3 separate regions of the Homo sapiens genome follow, and regions 1 and 3 are each linked to region 2. The links are contacts of gene promoters, found by promoter capture Hi-C in human tissues and cell types (Jung and others, 2019). All regions are on one chromosome and are shown on one strand. Each heading gives the region's core, a stretch centred on a gene start or on the middle of the fragment in contact. The rest is flanking DNA. Distances are from core to core; before and after follow the strand shown.

The links. The method cuts DNA at HindIII sites, captures the fragments that hold promoters and counts their contacts. A contact is called where the count stands out against the background at its distance.
Region 1: a contact is called between a fragment that was not itself captured here and the fragment with the promoter of ERGIC3 in region 2, in 1 of the 25 tissues and cell types used here (adrenal gland).
Region 3: a fragment that was not itself captured here is called in contact with the fragment with the promoter of ERGIC3 in region 2 in 1 of the 25 tissues and cell types used here (spleen).

What each region holds. Positions count from the first base shown.
Region 1 is chr20:34,893,451-34,897,247 of GRCh38, reverse strand. All of the region lies in intron 2 of ACSS2 (acyl-CoA synthetase short chain family member 2), which reads right to left. Among named protein-coding and RNA genes, the nearest start is that of ACSS2, 19 kb to the right of the region's middle. The HindIII fragment of the contact is 9,741 bases long and covers 1-3,797 here.
Region 2 is chr20:35,539,641-35,543,384 of GRCh38, reverse strand. ERGIC3 (ERGIC and golgi 3) reads right to left here and starts at 1,307. Exons shown (of 13, transcript NM_015966.3): 1 at 1,200-1,307; 2 at 992-1,062; 3 at 785-872; 4 at 444-563. The coding sequence starts at 1,287. RefSeq lists an enhancer at 1,546-1,635. The HindIII fragment of the contact is 35,337 bases long and covers 1-3,744 here.
Region 3 is chr20:36,059,848-36,063,298 of GRCh38, reverse strand. No RefSeq gene overlaps it. Among named protein-coding and RNA genes, the nearest start is that of NORAD, 11 kb to the right of the region's middle. The HindIII fragment of the contact is 8,994 bases long and covers 1-3,451 here.

The DNA.
Region 1 (3,797 bases), core at 548-3,047, 650 kb after region 2:
TTTAAATGGGTGAATTATATGGTATAAATTATATCTCAATAAAAAATATAATTGCAATTTTGATTGGAATTGCAATAAATGTACAGATTAATTTGGAAAATACAGACATCTTTACAAACCTTCCTTTCCAGAAAGGTTGTAACTATTCATTCATTAGAAAGATTAAGCACTATTCATTCATTCATTCTTGCCTCTTTCTATTTTTTTTTTTCCTTTTTTTGAGACAGTCTAGCTCTGTTGCCCAGGCTGGAGTGCAGTGGTGCTATCTCGGCTCACTGCAACCTCCGCCTCCCGGGTTCAAGCAATTCTTATGTCTCAGCCTCCCGAGTAGCTGGGACTACAGGCCCCCGCCACCACAGGCTAATTTTTATATTTTTAGTAGAGACAGGGTTTCACCATGTTGGCCAGGCTCTTGACCTCAAGTGATCCGCCCGCCTTGGCCTCCCAAAGTGCTAGGATTGCAGGCGTGAGCCACCACGCCCAGCCTGTTTATTTCTAAAGACAACACTTGGGCACTTATTTTTTTCTAGCACTAGAGTCCTATGTAGACATCTGTTTCCCTCACTGGATTATGAGTTCCTTAATGGCAGACAGGATATCTTTTTATATGTTTTCTCCTTAGTGCTTACCACAAAGGCCAATACACAGTGAGCACTTAATACATAATTGTAAAATGAATAGATAAAAGAATGAATAAATAAATGAACAAACTTATCTCTGCTTATATGACCAGCTGGATCCAAGATGATCAAAGAGAGAAAGTATGGAAGGAGAGGGGATAAGATAGGATACAGATAAACAAGATAGATGCTGGACAGGCAGAGGAAAGACAAGAGTGGAATTTGTGGAATGGATTTTGGAATCATGTCAAGAAGTGTTTCTTGAGATCCTACAGTGGGCTCAGTCTGGGACTCTGTGAAGAGGCTGGAAGAGAACCCTGGAGCTGAGGTTCAGAGTATGGGACTCCTGCCCTGCAGTCTGGGCTATTATTGTACCCTGTCCTCTTGCCAGCTATTTTCAGGCCTTGATCCAAATACCTTTTGCATGTTCCCCTTGGCCAAAGTGGCTTTGGTGCCCGATGGATTGTGTACCTCTTCTCTTTTCTCACTGCCTACATGCCTACTTACAGGAGGGGAATCACACACTTGTTCCTACCATCCTGTGTCCCATGCTGGCCTTACCTATAACAAGTGAATGAGGGCAGAGCATTTGGAATGCAGCCCAAAAGAGGAATATGCCTAGAGCAGAAACAGAAAGTGGAAAGAAAATCCAGGGGCATCATTTTATGTGTACATCAAGTCTCTCAAGTATAATAGACACATGCAAAAATATTCATTACAATGGTTCTCTATTATCTAGGTCAAAGGCAGTTTAAATCATTAGTCCTCAATCTACGGTACTCTATTCCTGTGAGTACCTGCACAGAAAAATATGAAGAGAATAAATGTCTAGATCCTCAACTTCCATATGTAATATTTCCTAACAATGATCTGTCTGAGTTGGTTCTTCTTTCTCACTCTCTTTTACAATTACCCTTCTCCCACGTTAAACAAGAATGTCATAGCTCTCTCTTATCTCAAACTTTATTATGGTACAATGACAGGGTATGAACAAAGTGTTAAACAAAGGGACAATTTGAGAATGTATAACTTCTGAGGGAGAGCCCCAAGAAAGCAAATCAATGAGAGCTTCTCTGAGAAATCAGTATTGAAAGAATTGGCATCTTAATTCATCCACGTAACAAACTCATGGCAAGACTACTTGCCTTATATCTCTTAGAATTACAACTCAGAAGTGAAACAGTTATCACAGAGTCATATATTAACATATTTATCTTAAGAAAGAAGTTAGGCAATTTCTAACACAGTAGATCTGATTTGGCTGATTATGTTGGGTGATAACTGGCTATGCAAAACAGGTTGTATGGTAGATGTCTTCTATAAATTATATGAGCTAAATTTGCAGTGCCAATGTTTTGAAAGAGGTATAACCTATATGTGCATATATATATATGTGTGTATATAATATGTAAAATGTTTTGGAAATTCGATTTTTTGCAATTTTTAAATCTTATGATAAAATTTTTAGATATGAACATTATGTCAAGAGTTACATAATTTTTCAAAATTCTTTTAGGTATATAATTTTAAGAGTTTAAGGTTATTAATCTAAATAATTTTTCAATGGTACTTTGTCCCTCCCCCCAACATCAGAATTGTCTGAGGAGGTTACAAAAATACAAGTCAGAGGTCTTATCCTCTGGAGATTCTAACTCAATAGTCTGGGATAGGGTCCAGAAATCTGGATTTCTAACGACATCCTCAGGTAATTATTTACATAAACTAAAATTGGGAAACCCTGGCTCTGAATATGGAGTCATCAGACTAGATTGTTTACCCCTAATTCAATGTATAATTTACACAAACTTTCCCCTCTCTCTGAGCCTATTCTTGTGGTCTTAGCAAGTACAGCATGGCTATCCATATAAATAAAATTAGATTTCTGTCAGTTTGTTTCCCATCATATGAAAACAACTAGACAGATTTTTAACAAATCCAGATGTTGTATTAGGACTCCCTAACTTCTTTTTTGAGACAGGGTCTCACCCAGGCTGGAGTGCAGTAGCACGATCACCGCTCACTGCAGCCTCAACCTCCCAGGCTCAAGAAATCCTCCCACCTCAGCCTCCCAAATATCTGGGACCACAGGCATGCATGACCATACCCAGCTAATTTTTTATTTATTATTATTATTTTTTGAGACAGAGTCTCACTCTGTCACCCAGGCCGGAGTGCAGTGGCATGATCTTGGCTCACTTCAACCTCTGCCTCCCAGGTTCAATCGATTTTCCTGCCTCAGCCACCCGAGTAGCTGGGATTACAGGTGTGAGCCACCACGCCTGGCCTAATTTTAAAATTTTTTATAGAGATGGGGTCTACCTGTGTTGCCCAGGCTGATCTCAAACTCCTGAGTTCAGTGATCCTCCCTCCTCAGTCTCCCAAAGTTCTGGGATTACAGGCATGAGCCACTGTGCCTGGCAGATTCTCTAACTCACTATATGTGGCAGTTTGGAGGACACCTCAAGTAACCATCCTCAAAAGCAGCTCAGAAACTAAAGTTCAACAAGAACCCTCTGTGACTGCTCCTTTGGATAGATTTTCATGTATTAAAATATCATGGTCAAAAAGAAGCAAACGTTGGTTTCAAAAATTAGTCTCTGGTCAAAAAAATCACACTTAGAAATGCAGGTGTTCATATGCTCTAGAGATGTTTTCTGTACGGGCAACTCTGTGTGTAAAGTATTCCAGGGTGAATAGTTTCAGGGTTGTATTTATTTTATTTAAATAAAATAATGATGCTCCAAGATGGTAAAACCATAAGGTAACCATGATAATAAACCATGATAGTAAAACCATAAGTAGACCAGACCTTAGAACCCTAGAAGAGGGCTGTTCTAAAAACTTTATATCCCAAAAAGAGATAATAGGTAGTCCAAGGCCCTCCTATATCTGAGATTTTGCAGTCTTCTCTTGTACCTTCTCTAATTCAAAATTCCAAGCTGGCCAGGCACAACGGCTCACGTCTGTGATCCCAGCACTTTGGGAGGCTGAGGCAGGAAGCTCACCTGAGGTCAGGAAGTTGAGACCAGCCTGGCCAACATGGCAAAACCACGTCTCCACTAAAAATACAAAAAAAAAAAAAAAAAAATTAGCTGGGCATGGTGGTGTGTGCCTGTAATCCCAGCTACTCAGGAGGCTGAAGCAGGAGAATTGCTTGAACCCAGGAGGCAGAGGTTA
Region 2 (3,744 bases), core at 58-2,557:
TAGATGTGAACCCAGGCAATCTGACTTGAGAACCTAAATTCTCATTAAACCACCTGCATTCCAAAGGGGAAGAGCATTAAGGGCTGAATTAAGCCAATGGGCTGGGAAAGCAAACACTCAAAGAAGCCTGGGTCCATCTAGACAGTTCTACCAAGGCAAGAGCACATAAGACCTATCTTCAAACCTCTGGTATTCAAACTACCATCTGCAGGTATTGAGGACCTCTGAGAATAATAGCCAGGTAGATTACCTGACTCGATATGTATAGAGGATTTTAGCTCACTCTGACTCTTACTAGCTGGGGGACCCTAGGCAAGTCACTTGACTTCTCTAGCTCTTAGTTGTTTAATGTATCACTATGCCTGCCACAGTTCACTTGCTAGCAGATAGGCTTGGGTACATCCAGCTTTGGGATCTGAGACCCGGCCCCCTCCCCTGGTTACCATGCCGCTCAGCCTCTGAGCTCACGGGGATGCCATCTTTATCTAGTCGTTGCTTGAACAGGTTGTGTTCCACATCCAGCTGCTGTTCTCCGGCCACATCCATGGCATCAATACTCAGATCTGGAAGCAGGAAAATCAGGCTAAGGTACTGGGACCCTAGGGACAAGGGGATGTGGGTTTTGGAGGGGAAGGGGATACTGGGCCTGTCTTGGGGCAGAACGGGATGAGGAGAAGGAGGTTGTCCTGGGGTCCAGTCCAGAACCTAAGGGTGGAGGTGTGAATCTGGCAGCCCACATGAGAACCCTGGGTCTCTCCAGTCCCACCCATGGTGAGGTACTCACAGGCACAAGGCATGTGCGGAAAAAGTACATCGATGTTGATCTTCAGTTTATCTCCCCGCGACTTGTCCACGTAGAGCTCAGGATGCACCTGGGGCAGCGCTACCTCAGTAAGACTTAGCCCCAAACCTCTCCTTCCCCACTCCCACCCCTAAAGGTCCTACTCCTAGAATGCCAAGCCCCGCCCACGCACTAAGCCCCGCCCCTTACCTCCGTGGTGAGGTAATACTGCAGCTCGGACAGGAACAGTAGCAGCATGAGAAGGCCACTGACAATGGTCACTGCAGGACAAGGGGCGAGGGTCAGAATGGCCTCGAATCCGCTCCCTCAGACACCGGCAGGCCAGTCAGAGTCCAGGAGCCCGGGCTAAGCTCTAGGACGCCCCCCTCCACGCGACCCCGGCCCCGCTGCGGCCTACCGGTGGCGCCCCCGCAGGTCTTGACCCGGAAGTCCTCCAAAGTCTTGGGGTAGGCATCGAACTGCTTCAGCTTCCCCAGCGCCTCCATGGGGACCGGCCGGAAAGGGGACGCCAGCCGGCCCGCCCCTACAGACTCCCTCTTCCGGCCTGGAGCCACGCCCCCCTCTTTTTCCTCACGCAGGCGCAGCAAACCGCACGCTTGGCCCCACCTTTAGCCGCGTTCTCTTACAGGCGGCCCCGCCCAACGATGCTGCCACGCCCCCTTGCGCGGGCAATTGGGTCTGGAAGCTACTGCCCCGGCCTCCGCTGTCCGGGGCGGGATTTTGAGGACTGGGGTGCGAGGAGTTCTCTGCGGGGTTAGAAACGCTAATAGCACCGTTCGTGTGCCTTGTGCTCGGAACTGCACCAGGTGTTTAAGACTCTTGGAACATCTTGGAATATCCTGGAACAGTGGTTTTTCGAGTGTACCGGACCGGCCGCATCATTATCAACTGATTACCTATTAGAAATGCAAATAATTGATTCCCACCTACTGAAGCCGAAACGCTAGGAATGGCATCGGATGATTCTGATGTAAAGTAAGGGTGTCCGCCCTGAAAGCAGGTGTGACTTATCTCCGTTTTCCAAAGAGCAAACTGTGACCTGGAGAAGTTAAATAACTTGCCCAAGATCACAGCCAATTAATAGCAGGACCTGCTTCCAGCCCAGTTCTTCTGGACCTCAAAGTACTCTGGGAATCAGGGTCTTTTGGGTTGATTTTACCTAAACAGCGTCCCAGTGCTTCTCCTGAGCGCTGCTTTCTGAATATTACCCTAAATTGCTCTCCAGGCCCTGGGATCCTCACGGACACGCTCTATCCCTCCAGGTTTAGACTCAAGTGATATGGAGCTTAAGCTCTCCCTGACACTTCCCATTGCAGCCCAGTGTCTCTAGAGGGACAGCTCCCACAGTAATGCAGCTGCAATGAGTAAGATATAAAAGCTCATAGGCTTTCATACAGGAATTCCACTTTAGGAAGTAAAAGCACCATGTCAAGGTTAATAGAAAAATTTTGAAAAAGAAAAAATATGTAAGCAGCTATCCAAGGTTAACAGAAAAAAATTTTAATATAAGGATAAAAGTACCATGATCTGGGTGGTTGTTACACCTTAAGATATTGAATCTGTCTCTTAAAGATTTTAAGTGCACCACATCATAAAGATGTATGCATGAGATTGTTCAATGGCAAAAATCTGGAACCAGCCAGAATGCCCACTGATACATTAAATAAATTGAATAAATCACGATACACCCATTCTATGGAATATTAGGCCACTTTTCAAAAGAATGAGGTAGATTTACTCCTTTAGGTATACTAAGAATGTATTTTTAAGGGGGAAAAGATGCAAAGTAATGTGCATTCCATCATTCCATTTTTTAATTAAAAATTGGGCTGGGCACAATGGCTCACACCTGTAATCACAGCACTTTGGGAGACCGAGGAGGATCACATGAGGCCAGGAGTCTAAGACCAGCCTGGGCAACACAGCAAGACCCCACTCTACAAAAACTTTAAAAACTACATCTGTAACCCTAGCACTTCAGGAGGCCGAGCCAGGAAGCATCACTTGAGTTCAGGAGTTTGAGACCAGCCTGGTCAACATGGTGAAACCCCATCTCTACTAAAAATACAAAAATTAGCCAGGCGTGGTAGTGTGCTCCTGTAAACCCAGCTACTTGTGAGTCCGAGGCAGGAGAATCGCTTGAACCTGGGAGGCGGAGGTTGCAGTGAGCCGAGATCATGCCATTGCATTCCAGCCTGGGCGACAGAGTGAGATTCTGTCTCCAAAAATAAAAATAAAAATAAAAAAATTAGCCAGGTGTGGTGGCATGCGTCTATAGTCTCAGCTACCTGGGAGGCTGGGGTTGAGCCCAGGAGAGTTTGAAACTGCAGTTGTTACCAGGTTACCTGCAGTTGTTACCAGCATAGAGTTGTCCAGGTTCTTGGCGTGTTGAACAAAACACATAAAGTAACAGAAGGGCAACGAAAGACAAACAGCAACAGAAGAACGGAATAACAAAAGCATAGATTTATTGAAGACGATTCATAGCGGCAGCTGGTTAGAGCAAGCTGCTCAAGAGCCTCCTCAATCAGGGTTTGTATTAAGCTAAAGGGACCTGGCAACACCCCTAGGTGCCCTTTAGAAGCCTCCAGTTGGCTACACCTATGAAGGATTGGCCTGCGACCAAATCAGAGGCTGAAGTGGAGACTTGGCCCACAGCCAATCAGAGGCTGAAGTGGAGATTTGGCCCCACGGTCAATCGGAGGCGGAAGTGGAAACTTCTGTCTCGTTATCATAGGATTGAAGATGTGGCCTGTATGCTGCCTAGAACTGGCTGCACCCCTTCATTTGCTTATGTCTTAACCCCCGGTTACCCTGATTCCCTGTTCTCCTGCCTCATAGTGAGCTGTGATTACACCACTGCACTACAGCCTGGGCGACAGAGCGAGTCTCTCTCTCTCTCTTTGTGTGTGTGCATATATATATATATAATATATATAAAC
Region 3 (3,451 bases), core at 346-2,845, 520 kb before region 2:
GGGGGCATCTGCCTCTTTGCTTCTGCTGACTATGCTCTCAGACACCCACTGCTTCTAGTCTTCTAGTTAGGCAAAGTTGGCTAAGTCAGTTGACATCAAGTCTCAGTTTCTCCATCTGAGAAGGAAACGTTTGGCTTTATCTCACACATTTTATGGGGATCAAACATTATTGTATGTAGAAAATATTTTGTGAAGTGTAACAAACTATAAAATGGAGGGGGAGGAGAATGTGACTGATCATTTGTTGTGCATCTGTTTCACAGTCTGCAGGAGTTCTGACAGCATTCCTCTGAGTCAGGGCTAGTGTCCTCTTGTACAGATGAAGAGATAGTCTTCAAGGAATATGTTGACTTAACCAAAGTCACAGGCTTGCCAGAGTTAGAATGTAGAACTCTCTGACCTCTAAGACCAATCTCTTACACTGTTTGGCAAAGTGTGGCTTGGGTCCCACCAAGGCAGGGCAGGTGATCCCAATTGGGGCTTAGCCCAGGAGGGTTCTTGACTTGAAAGAATTCAAGGGTAAGTCAGTGATGTCAGATAGTAACTTTTATTGAAGTGGCAGTGTTCGGCAGCAGCAGACGTACTGCTTCTTGTGGAGCAGGGTTACCCCATAGGCAGTGTGCCTAGAGTAGCAGCTCAAACGCAGTTCTGCAGTCATATTTATACCCACTTTTATTTACATGCAAATTCAGGGGCAGATTATGCAGAAATTTCTAGGAAAAAGGTGGTAACTTCTTGGTCTTGGGTCACTACCATGGAAAGGGCAGTAACCTCTGAGTGTTGCCATGGCAATGGTAAACTGGCATGGCACACTGGTGGGCATGTCTTATGGAAAGCTTCTTCTACCCCATCCCTGCTTTAGCTAGTCCTCAATTTGGTCCAGTGTCTGAACCCCACCTCCAGACTCGAGTCCTGCCTCCTACCTCACTAGTGGTCATAATACGATGATTTCAGGTGGAACCCAGATGAACATTTTTTAAAACCAGGTTATGTCATAGTTTTTATTTTTAAGTATAGAGCCGGCTTACTCATACTACAAAAGTCCTACATTTCACACAGCCAGGGTGTAGTAGGCTGAATAATGGCCACCCAAATATATCAAGTCCTAATCTCTGGAAACTACTGTAAACATTACTTTATTTGAGAAAATAATTTTTGCAGATGTGATTAAGAATGTTGAGATGAGGATATCATTGAGGATTAGCCAAGTGGGCCCTAAATTCCATCACACATATCCTTATAAGAGAGAGGGAAAGGAAGATTAGACCAACACACACAGAAGAAGAGGAAGCAATGTGACCATGGAGGCAGAGACTGATGTGGCCACAAGCCAAGGATTGTTGGCAGCCACCAGAAGTTGGAAGAGGCAGACGGATTCTTCCCCAGAGCATCTGGAGGGAATACAGCCTTGCCAACACATTGACTTCAGCTCAGTGAAACTCATGTTCAATTTATGGCCTCCAGAACTATGAGAGAATAAATTTCTGTTGTTTTAAGCTACCAGGCTTGTAGTAATTTGTTTTGGCACCCACAGGAAACAAATAAATGGATCTACATGACTTCAAAATTCATGCCTCTTTTTTTCTCTTTTTATTATTTATTTATTTATTTTGAGACAGAGTCTCGCTCTGTTGCACAGGCTGGAGTGCAGTGGCGTGATCTCGGCTCACTGCAACCTCTGCCTCATGGATTCAAGTAATTCTCATGCCTCAGCCTTCCAAGTAGCTGGGATTACAGGCATGCGCCACCACGCCTGGCTAATTTTTGTATTTTTAGTACAGATGGGGTTTCACCATGTTAGCCAGGCTGGTCTCAAACTCCCAACCTCAGGTGATCCACCCACCTCGGCCTCCCAAAGTACTGGGATTATAGGCATGAGCCACCGCACCCAGCCTTCTCTCTTTTTAAAATAAACTTATTATTTTAAAATAATTTTACATTTACAGAAAATAAATGTAAGTCTTTGATTTAGAGTACAGAAATTTCCCATTGTGTTAGGGCTCACCAGAGAAAGAGAACCAATACGGTGTGTGTGTGCATAAAAGAGATTTATCATAAAGAATTGGCTTACCTAATTATGAAGGCTGGCAAGCCCGAATCCCACAGTGTGGGCCTGCAGGCTGATGACCCAGGAGAGCCAATGGTGCAGTTTGAAGGCAGCCTGCCGGAGAATTCCATCTTGCTTAGGGAGGCCAGTCTTTCTGTTTTATTCAGGCCTTCAACTGATCAAATGAGGCCCGCCCACACCCAAGTTCAACCATTTAAATGCTAATATCATCCAAAACCACCCTCCATGTTGACACATGAACTTAACCATCATACTCAAGAGTACAGAGAGTTCCTGTATAGCCCTCACCCTGCTTCCCCTATTATTACCACCTTACATTACTATGGCATTTGTCACAACTAAGAAACCAACACTGGTACATTCCTATGAACTAAATTCCACCTGTTTTCTGCTCCAGAGTCCCTTCTAGGACACCACACTACATTTAGTCATCATGTCCCTTTAGTTTCTTCTGGCTTGTAACAATTACTCAGGCATTTCTTGGTTTTTAAGACCTTGACAGCTTTGAGGAGTACTGGACAGGTATTTTACAGAGTGCCCCTCAATTTGGGTTCATCTGATGCTTTTCTCATAGTTAGACTGGGGTTATGAGTTTGGGGAAACATGTCATAGAGGTAAACTGCTCTTCTCATCAAATCATAGGTACATGTTATTGACATGACTTCATCAGGATACATGTTAGCGACATGACTTGATTACCTGGCCAAGCGAGTGTCTGTCCAGTTTCTCCCCTGGGAAGTTGCTTGTTTTTCCTCCCTTTCCACTCTTTGGAAGCAAGTTACTAAGTGCAGCCCACACTCAATGGGAGAATTAAGCTCCACAACCTGAAGGGGTTGTATCTACCTACATTATCTAGAATTCTTCTTTAAGGATCATTTGTCTCTTCTCCCTTATTTATTTATTTATTTATTTATTTATTTATTTATTTATTGAGACAGAGTTTCACTTTGTTGCCCAGGCTGGAGTACAATGGCACAACACTGGGTCACCACAACCTCCGCCTCCCAGGTTTAAGAGATTCTCCTGCCTCAGCCTTCCCAAGTAGCTGGGACTACAGGCATGCGCCACCACGCCTGGCTAATTTTGTATTTTTAGTAGAGACGGGGTTTCTCCATGTTGGTCAGGCTGGTCTTGAACTCCCGACCTCAGGTGATCTGCCTGCCTCAGCCTCCCAAAGTGCTGGGATTACAGGCGTGAGCCACCGCGCCCAGCCCTCCCTCATTTATTTATTTAATCATTTATAACAGTATGGACTCATGGATATTTGGTTTATACTTTGAACTTTATCCCAATACTATGTTATTTTGTTGCTCAAATTGTTCCAGCTTTGGCCATTGGGAGCTTTTTTTTTTTTTTTTTTTAGATGGAGTCTTCTCTGTCACC